Regions from separate parts of the Homo sapiens genome. Here region 1 is linked to region 2. The links are contacts of gene promoters, found by promoter capture Hi-C in blood cells and fetal thymus (Javierre and others, 2016). All regions are on one chromosome and are shown on one strand. The core of a region is centred on a gene start or on the middle of the fragment in contact, and the rest is flanking DNA. Distances in the headings are between cores, read along the strand shown. Region 1 has its middle 97 kb from the start of SNORD3F. Region 2 holds the start of XPO7 (exportin 7).

Region 1 (4,785 bases), core at 2,218-4,717, 1.4 Mb after region 2:
CTGAGATGGCGGTGGAGAGGGAAGAGGGAGGGAAAAAATGAGAGAGAAGGAACACAGGAGTGAGGCCTCAGAGATTTGCTTCAAGTTGCTGGGAGAGTGGCGCAGTAAAGGGGCCTCCATCAGAAGAATGGCTCTCAGTAGGCAGAGAGGAAGTGGTCCAAATTAACCCCGATAGGAAACTTCACTCTCTACACCGCACGCTACACATCCAGAGTGAAAGCCATCTGAAAATTCTCTGCCACCAAATCAAACCGTTCATTTCCCATTAACGGCCCATCACATGCAGGAGGTATTCTTGGCCCAGGCTATTATGCCTCTGGGTTATTGTTTTAAATTTGAGTCATTACAACAAATTACTGTACTTAGACCTTCTCAAGGAGCTCTGAGGACGTATTGTCACCAGACGTCCTGTTCGCCTGCCTCTCCCGAAACTGCGCCTGCTGGAAGTGGAGGAGAGTGATCCCTTTCTAGATGTTGCCGGGCACTCCAGGTCTCAGGGTGAACTCTAGGGGGTACCCCTGGGCACACTCACCACCCTCCTTGGTTCTCAGTTTCTAAGCCAGCCCTTTGGGACAGAAGACTCCACAACCCAAAATTATCAAAAAGCTGCCATGAACAGGCCTATCCGTGTGCCAAGCACTGAGTTATGCTCAGACCACACACCATGCAGAAGCTCACTGAGTTATGCTCAGACCACACACCATGCGGAAGCTCATACGGGAATTTTGCAGTGAAGAAGAGTGGTTGACACCTGCTCGGGGGGTGCTCTGACTCCATCTTTGGGCTTTGGGAGGCCTGAGCCACAGTGTGTGGAATGGAGGAAGGCAGGGAATAGCAGAGGAAGCTGTTGTCTGGTTGTGAACTCCAGCCACCATACTAAGGTTTGACCTGGAGGCTGTGTCTGCAGGGGTGCAGGTGAGAGAGGTCTCACTGGGCCCATGCAGACATTAGTAATATTCTAGAGACAGTTGGCATTGTGCAGTGTGGGCAGGCAGATGAAGCCCCTCGGTAGGTCCTGGCAGCGGGGCCCACACACGTCCACATTTTACACAGAGACCAAAAAATCAGAACGTTTTCCAGGTCTCGAAATACCACGAAGGCACTTTCAGTCCTCCAGTTGACATGTCTATGGTTAAATTGCCTCCTGTGTTGGATTTTGCACACGTATTCATTTCCATTACCAACTCCAAAGCACCTCCCCTGAATGGATTAAACACCAAATCTTTTGCCTCGACAAATGTTATTTTAAAAATACATAGTATCTATAATACCATAGAGAAATTTACTTTCTAATAAGGGTGTTCCCACTTTTTCCCCAAGTGGTTTCCTAGCTCTGTCAGACACCTATAAGCAGAAGAAAGATAAGTCATCATAAAACCCCTAGAAATTGGTACTGTGATTACCCCCACTTTGCACCTAAGGAAACCAAGGTACAGAGAGGTTAAGTAATGTGCCCAAGGTCACACGGCTATTAAGTGATAGAGCAGGGATTTGAACCCAGAGAGTTGCCTGTAGACTCTTCACGCCTAACTGCTGTGCTGTGCACACTGCCCCTCCATTTATTTTCATAAATGGATGAATCCAAGTGATCATTCTTTCCCTCCCTCCTATCCTGCCTCCTTCTTTTCACAGGGAGCTTTCTCACCAGTTCTTCTCCCAGCTGTCATTATGTAAGAACCTGGATGTGCTGCCAGAAGAATGTGAGACCACACAGGTGGAAGTGCTTTATAAACTGTAAAGTGCCATAAAAGGAAAGGGATCCGTCATTACTGTCGACTTACGCATTTCAGCATCGCTTCTGTTCCGGAGAGTCTTTATCTCCAAAGAATGATTCCTCATTCTTCCTCTTCCGTCTGTTCATAATCTAAATCCCCATATGTCTTTTCTTCATAACTGGAGCGTGTCCACTTATTCTTTTCCCTAATCTCTGCCAAATGGCTCCAAAAGTCATTCTCGGCGGAGTGTTCCGAGCTCTCCGCAAGTGCCGCTCCTCCTCTTGCCACACCCTTTTCCTAGGCAGACACAATTCCTTCTACGCTGATACTTTTTTTTAACTCTCGTCTGAAGCTTGTTCAACATCCTTTGTGCACTTCTAGGCTTTGCCAGCCCTCCGCCACCCCCGGTAATCTAGTCTAAGAATCCGCATCCAAAATTCTTCCTTTGTCTCTTCCCTATCTTTCCTTCTGCATGTTTCATCTCCCTCCTTTTCTCCGCTCCACGTTTCTTGGCCTTTGCGGTTAAGGTGGTAGCTTGCAGCCCCACGCGCATGGGTAGCAATACCCAGGTTCCAGTCACTGTCACGCTGCTACGGCTTAATCCGTGAGCTTGAGCAGAGCTTCTTGCCCTCCCTGAGCAAGGTCAAGGTGGGAAGGTTGAGCTGACTGAGCCTCGAGTCCTTTCCAGCTTGATGTTCTATTCTCTCAGGCTCTATGATCTCGAAGACCAGAGATGGCAGGGCCCCTCCCTTCAGCTCCAAAATGGATAAATCGAGTATCCATGCTCCTTTCAGGGGATCTGTCTATTCCTTATCAGCACTTCACAACTAATGTCCTGCAGAACAGCTTTCCCCGGCACGCTACCACATGTGCAACAAGAAACGAGCTCCTTGTTGAAATAACTTTAGGAAATGCTGGTTATAAAAAGGCAATAACTGGACTTTTTATTTTACTTTATTTTATTTTAAGTTCCAGGATACATGTACAGGAAATGTAGGTTTGTTACATAGGTAAACCTGTGCCATGGAGGTTTGCTGCACTTATCAACCCATCACCTAGGTATTAAGCCCCGCATGCATTAGCTATTTATTATTATGCCCTCCCTCCCCCTGCTCCCATGACAGGCCCCAGTATGTGTTGTTCCCCTCTCTGTGTCTTGGACTTCTAATCGCAAGACTTCGAGCTCCCTAATCTATAAGTAGGTATCCTGACACCCTGAGAATGCTGGAGCAGTGGTATGGCCCAAGCTTTTGTGAGCGTAACTTTGGAGAAATCCCTATTAAGTTCTCCCAGGAGAGTCCCCTAGATACAAGAGTTTCAGAAGCTCTCTTAGGACCACACTTCCACACCAGTGATCATCGCTCTTTCCTCCCCCTCTGCAGTAGACTCTCTAGGCACAGCAATTGTGCACTGTCCTGTAAGCTTTGAGATCAAAAGCTCATGTCCAGGGTGTGTGGAATGAGATCAGAAGGTTCCTCCGGATCAGGCAGATCCTGCAATTCTCTATAAGAAGGGAGCAAATAAGTCCAACAGAAGAGGTAGATGAATTGTTACCTAGTCAGGCCTTCTTTTTGGAGATATGTTCATAGATGTTACAGCTATTTTTTTTTCCACTTAATGTGGGAGAGGAAGTCCACCTTAAGCTGTGGACAAACTTTTCTGATTGTACAGCACACATACACACACACACACACACACACACACACACACACACACACACTACAAGGCTTTCAGAGTGCAGTAAGCTCCTCAGAGAAAGGTAAAAGAATCTTTAAACAAGGCAGGTGACCACCCCAGAGCTGCCTGAAAACTAGAGCAATTTGACGTCTGGAAGAAAAAATGGCTTTTAGTCACAGAAATATGCATGTAGATATTGAGTTATTCACTTAAAAACACCTGCTTTAAAAACCTCTCTGGGGGAGAACTCCCATCTATATTAGAATTCATAAAACAAAAACACTCTGAGTGTGTTATTAAAATGTTAACATCAGAAACATTGCGAGAAGCCAGAGAGGCTTTGGTTACCCAAAGAGACTGCAAGAAGGGAAATCCCCAAGCAATTACAACCCTCAATAAGCTTTTACTTTTATATGTAAAAACACAGAAATGATTGGAGGATTGTAGATACACAGTTTCAGATTGTTAGGAAAATTTATCAGATCAACTAGCATAAGAGACAGAAAGGGGTGCAAAGGAAATGAACACTGGCTGAGGTCTCCCCGACTACGTGCCAGGAAGTTCGAATGGGGAACTATCAGGCCACGATGACCGCAACCCTGCAAGTGGACCGGGATCTAGTTCCTATATGCAGAAACCAAGCCTCAAGGAAGGTAAATTATCTATTTCCATGATGAACATCTGACTGTAACAGAAGCACACTCTCTTCCTCTCCCACGCTGGCAGCGGAAAGGGCCGATTGAAGTGAGTGGCTCAGTTTCTGCCCAGCTGGGACTTCTGTCGGGGCTCAGCCTAATTCCGCATTGGAGGCATTGAAATTTCAGCATGACAGCCCCCTTCCTGAATGAGAGTCTATGTCTGGGGAATGAACCGTGAGTCCCAGATTTCTCTAATATGTTTTCATGGTGATGCTATGAAAGTCAAAACGGAATAGGAAAATAATTCTTCCAGAATCTCATCGACTCTAAAGGTATAGCGGGAAGAAAATCAATATGAGCTTGATGCCAGATAAACTTGGGTTTGAAACTCAACTCTGTCACTAACTGGCTAGGTGAGTCAGGTAGGCTACGTGACCTCTCTGAACCTGTTTCCATATTCGTAAAAAGGTGTGTGTGTGATTAAGACTGAATAGTAGTAATAATAGCTAACATGTATTTAGCACTTGTTACATGTTCATTTCTTTTCTGTGTTTTTTGCATGTACATATTTAATTTCTGACAATAACTCCGTGGCGGGGTGTTCTTACCCCATTTTACAGATCGATCGGGAGACTGAGGTATGAAATTCTCACATAATTTTCCCAAAACCATATGGATACTTAGTATTACAGGCAGGATTTGAACCCAGGCAATCAGAACACAGAGCTTTTGCTCCTAAGCACTGTGTGCTACCA
Region 2 (4,494 bases), core at 1,076-3,575:
CATTATACCTAGGGAAGCGTGTATCTTTTTCATAAGAAGGTTTTCTGCCACAATAAAGTACCACCTTAACATCTGTGAGTGCCCAATACTATTAACACTTAGTGGTCTGACAAAGAAAAGCAGTATGTCCCATTCTCTCTAAAGGGAAAAAAATTCACTCACAAACTTACCCCGTTGATATGAAGACCACTAAGCACTAATTTAGACCAACAGATTGCAGCTCTTAAAAGTAAATAAAGGGTACCAATAAAACACTGATCAACATGCTCCCCTTTGTTTTGAAAAGTTAATAAATTCTTACTTCCGTAGATTTTTGAGTGGTGAGTGGGAGAACAACATCTTACTAAAAATAAGACAGACCTTCGTTGGAGCGACAAATGCTGTGAAGATTGCTTTGATGCATCCTGACTTTCACAGGAATGACAACCTTTATGCTTCGAAAATGTGGGAGATCACATTAAGAGATATTTCTTTACGGGAAACAGCAAATAGCACGATGTATATTCATAAAAGTACTGACTCCCTCTGCATTCCGAAGCATGGTTCACAAAGGCTATCTATTCAAAGCCTGTTCTAGAATGCTCATAGACATCCCCCCAACCCCCAGTAAGGAAGCGCACTGGACCCAAACTCCAAAGACTTTGGGACACTTAGACTTACCTTAACCAAATCTCATTATCATTCTTGTGCTTTGGTTTTTGTTCCTTTAAATGACAGAAGTAATTCCTGCCTGAGTCTTGTAAGATCCAAGAATTTTTAAAAATCACATAAAATATTTCATGCTTCTTAGAAATGACTGCTATAAAACGCAAGGTGCTATACTATTATTATTATCATTATTATCATCTCCTTGTATCAACTTTTACTGTCACTTCTGAATTAAGCCAAGGTACTGGCTTTGAAACACAAATCCCGTGGTTTTCCACCTGTGATTACGTTTCTTGCTATAATTCTGTCCTGACAACTTGTCCCGCACACTCCGAAGATCTACTTTACTGATCTCTGGCCTGAAAATTAAGTCTTTTATTTAGTCCCTTCTCTCCAAAGAAAGGGGCAGAAGTCACACCACTCCAGATTCTTGTAGACGTATTAAGAATGAGATCATTCTTCTTACTTGAGGAATGATGCCACAGAATATAAAGGCGACACTTCTTGCCCTCTAATCTTTCCTTGCCACAACACAAAACCTGTGCACTTGGTTACCTAGAAAATTGGAAGGTTCCCCACAATGGATGTGCATCAATAACTGTCATAAAAATATCAGATCTCTGGCACAGACAGGAAAAACTTTATCTAGTTTGCAAGAAATTAAACCCTGCAGTCCTCCATCTGCTACTGGGTTTGGTATGGGCTGTCCCTTTCTAGGGCCTGTGCCTGTCTTTGAGGAGAGTGGCCTGGCCCCACAGCACGCTAGGAGCAGCTCTTGAGCCGGATCAAGACCCTCCCGAGCAACGTCTGCACCCAACCCTGCATCTCTCATTTCAGACACACCCCCCTCCACCCCGTGTTTCATAGGAGGTGTGGGCGCTCAACTCCTTCACTGTGGCTAGGGGGACGCGAGGGGAGGCGGGCCGAGGCCTGAGCACCCATTTTGGAAGACCGGGGAGCTCGGCCCTCCGGGCTGTACGATTTGGAGTGTCGGAGGGAAGGGCGCATCCGTGGGAGGGGGAAGGAGGCCGGGGTTGCTGGGGGGTCTCTCGTATTCCGGGGCGTGAGAGGAAGGCGGCGGGAAAGACTCCGGAGAGCGAGGTTTATCAGCGCGAGGTTTCCTTTTTGTTATCTGCTGAGGGATGGCGGGCGTCATGGGGGCGTCCCCCTCAGTAAAGTCAGCAAGGGGGTCCCCCTCGCTTCACCGGGGGGCGGGCGGGGGGGCCCGAGGACTTGACGGAGGCCTCCCCCGGGGACGAAGACAGTGACTGACGAACGTTGTGGGCTGCGCGCGCCGGGATGCCCGTTCCTGTCCCTGCAGCCCCGCGCGCGAGGTGTGGGACCGGGTGGGAGGGGACGGAGAAGGCCCCCGGCCCGGGAGGCGGGAAAGGCCCCGGGGCTCCGGGACGGGCGGCGGCTCCAGAGCCCCGAGTGGCGGCGGCGCGGGCCTGCCGAGTCCCGAGCCGGCTGGCGCCCTGTGGGCCGTGTGCACCCCCGACTCCACTCGCCGCTCTTCGTGGTCGCCCCCTCCCCCCCGCGGCTCCTCTCACCTGCACATGATCCGCCATTTTGCTCCATTCATGCTCCTCTCCGGCCCCCCCTCCCCCCCAGCGCGCACCTCGGCCGGAGCCGCTGCCGCCGCCGCCGCCGACGCCGTCGCCGCTGCGCCTGCGCGCTGGGGACTCGTCGCGCTGCGCTCGTGGCGTAGCGCCGCTCAGCTGCGCAGGCCCCGGCGGCCCGGGCCGTGGTTGGAGAATGCGCAGCACCGCTGGGACGGCGTAAAGGCGCGGGCAACGTCAGCGGCCCGGAGACGCCGGGTGGGAGGAAGGAGCGGGCCGGGGGAGCGCGAAGGAGGGGCAGCTGGGGGAACAAAGCTTTGTTTACATGGTTTTTAAAGGGGCCGCGCTCGCTCCGGCAGGCGGGCGCTGGAGTGGGAGTTGGCGCTGCCTTCTGCTCGTTTGCGTGGTGAGGGCTCCTGGATGGGGGCCGAGGTCTGTCGCCGCCCCGGGACCCCTGCACCCAGTGGCTTCCTCTCTTCCCAACCGTCTTCCCCCTTGACTCGCCCCTGGACGTCTCCCACCCCCACCCCCACCCCACCCTGCAGCTACGGGGACCCCCCACACCCCACCTAGGCTGCCTGCGAGATTCCTTACTTTCCAATGCCCTCTACTCAACGGGGGCCGATTCTGTGCTTGTGTCTGTCTAGCTTTCTGGACCAGGGCCATCGCTCTCTGGTCTGGATTTCACCAGCAACCCCAGTGGTTGATCTCGTGTTTTTCATTTCTGTCCTTTCGTCCTTGATAAACATTCATGGAAATAACCACCGAATGGTGGTGATGATCAAAACATACGAAGGCACAGTTCTGGCTTCCCAAAGACATTGTCCTCGTTGCCAATACTCTAGACTGCCTCCCGAGAGGGTCAGATGCTGGAAGAGGCAGCGGGGCTGGTGGTTAGGACCCCTAGGCTCGGTCTTGTGGAGGTATGAGTGGGAAAGCCATCTCTCTGGGTCAGATAAGGTCAGCCCCTGCATGCTGAGGCCAATTCCAGTCTTCCTCACTAGGAATTATCTGTTAGATAATGCCGGTTCCTGTTTTCCATTGGATTCCACTGTGGCTTCCTTTTAAGGCCCCCAGGTTAGATCATAGCTGGATTCTGAGAGCACTGATTGTTTGAAGTTTGTATTTACAGGGGACTACCATCATATGCAAATGATGGTGGTAGTGAATTACACACCCTTGGTGGATGTAGTGGACCGGTGCTCAGCATTCATTTCGACTTCCGTCCTCCTAGTAGGTCTTCCTGGTTTGCAGAGGTAGGGCACCTGGAAACTACATTACCCAAACTTCCTTGCAGCTAGGGTTCTGTATGCAAATTAGGCTCTGCCAATTAGGCTGACTCAGAGAAGATTTAAGAGGCAGAAGATTTAAGTGGCAGAGCTTTTGACTGTTAACTTCTAGCGAGCATAGACCTTTTCAGATGTTGGGTTTTTGTTTTTCCCCAAAACCTCCCAGCGTCCAATCATTAGCTCCGAGCGTATAAAGAGGCGGGGTGATGGGGTCAGTGGCTTTCTGAACCTGGCATCGGGCAATGAAATATTCTCAGAGTCACAATTGCAATGGAAATTCTTTGGATTCCCTACTGGACTGAATAGAGGTAACAGTTTCACAGTGGGCCAGGCCCAAATTTCTGTCCACCCTCCCTTCCCCCACCCCCGCACCCCAACCTCCCCGTGTTTCTCCCTGTGTCTTCCCTTCCTCAGTAAATGGTACCACCATTCATCCAGTTGCTCCTAATAAACACTCAGGAGTTGGTTCTTCAAGTCTTATCAGTCCCCAACATGCAAGTCACCTGCAAGTCCTGTTCAATCTATATCTAATATATACCCAATATGACCACTTCTCCATCCATCTCCACTGTTAACACCTTGGTCCAAGCCACCATTACCTTTCTCCTGTGCTCTGGTAATAGATTCCTAATTAGTTTCCCTGCTTCCTGTCTTGCCCCTTGATAACCCATTTTCCATATAGCTGGACGCTGCAGAACATTATTTTATTTATTTGTTATTTTTTGAGACAGAGTCTTGCTCTGTTGCCGAGGCTGGAGTGCAATGGCGCCATCTCTGCTCACTGCAACCTCCGCCTCCCTGGTTCAAGCGATTCTCTTGCCTTAGCCTCCCAAGTAGCTGAGATTACATGCGCCCACCACCATACCTGGCTAATTTTTGGATTTTTAGTAGAGACAGGGTTTCACCACGTTGGCCAAGCTGGTCTGGAACTGCTGACCTCAGGTTATCCACTCGCCTCTGCCTCCCAAAGTGCTGGGATTACAGGTGTGAGCCACTGC

Evidence for each region. The method cuts DNA at HindIII sites, captures the fragments that hold promoters and counts their contacts. A CHiCAGO score of 5 or more calls a contact.
Region 1: a fragment that was not itself captured here is called in contact with the fragment with the promoter of XPO7 in region 2 in 1 of 17 cell types (naive CD4 T cells); the score reaches 5.1 in naive CD4 T cells.

The regions. Positions count from the first base shown.
Region 1 is chr8:20,515,269-20,520,053 of GRCh38, reverse strand. No RefSeq gene overlaps it. Among named protein-coding and RNA genes, the nearest start is that of SNORD3F, 97 kb to the left of the region's middle. The HindIII fragment of the contact is 655 bases long and covers 3,140-3,794 here.
Region 2 is chr8:21,917,493-21,921,986 of GRCh38, reverse strand. It overlaps XPO7 (exportin 7), which reads right to left and starts at 2,325. Exons shown (of 28, transcript NM_015024.5): 1 at 2,199-2,325. The coding sequence starts at 2,216. RefSeq lists a silencer at 1,969-2,408. The HindIII fragment of the contact is 3,017 bases long and covers 1-2,524 here.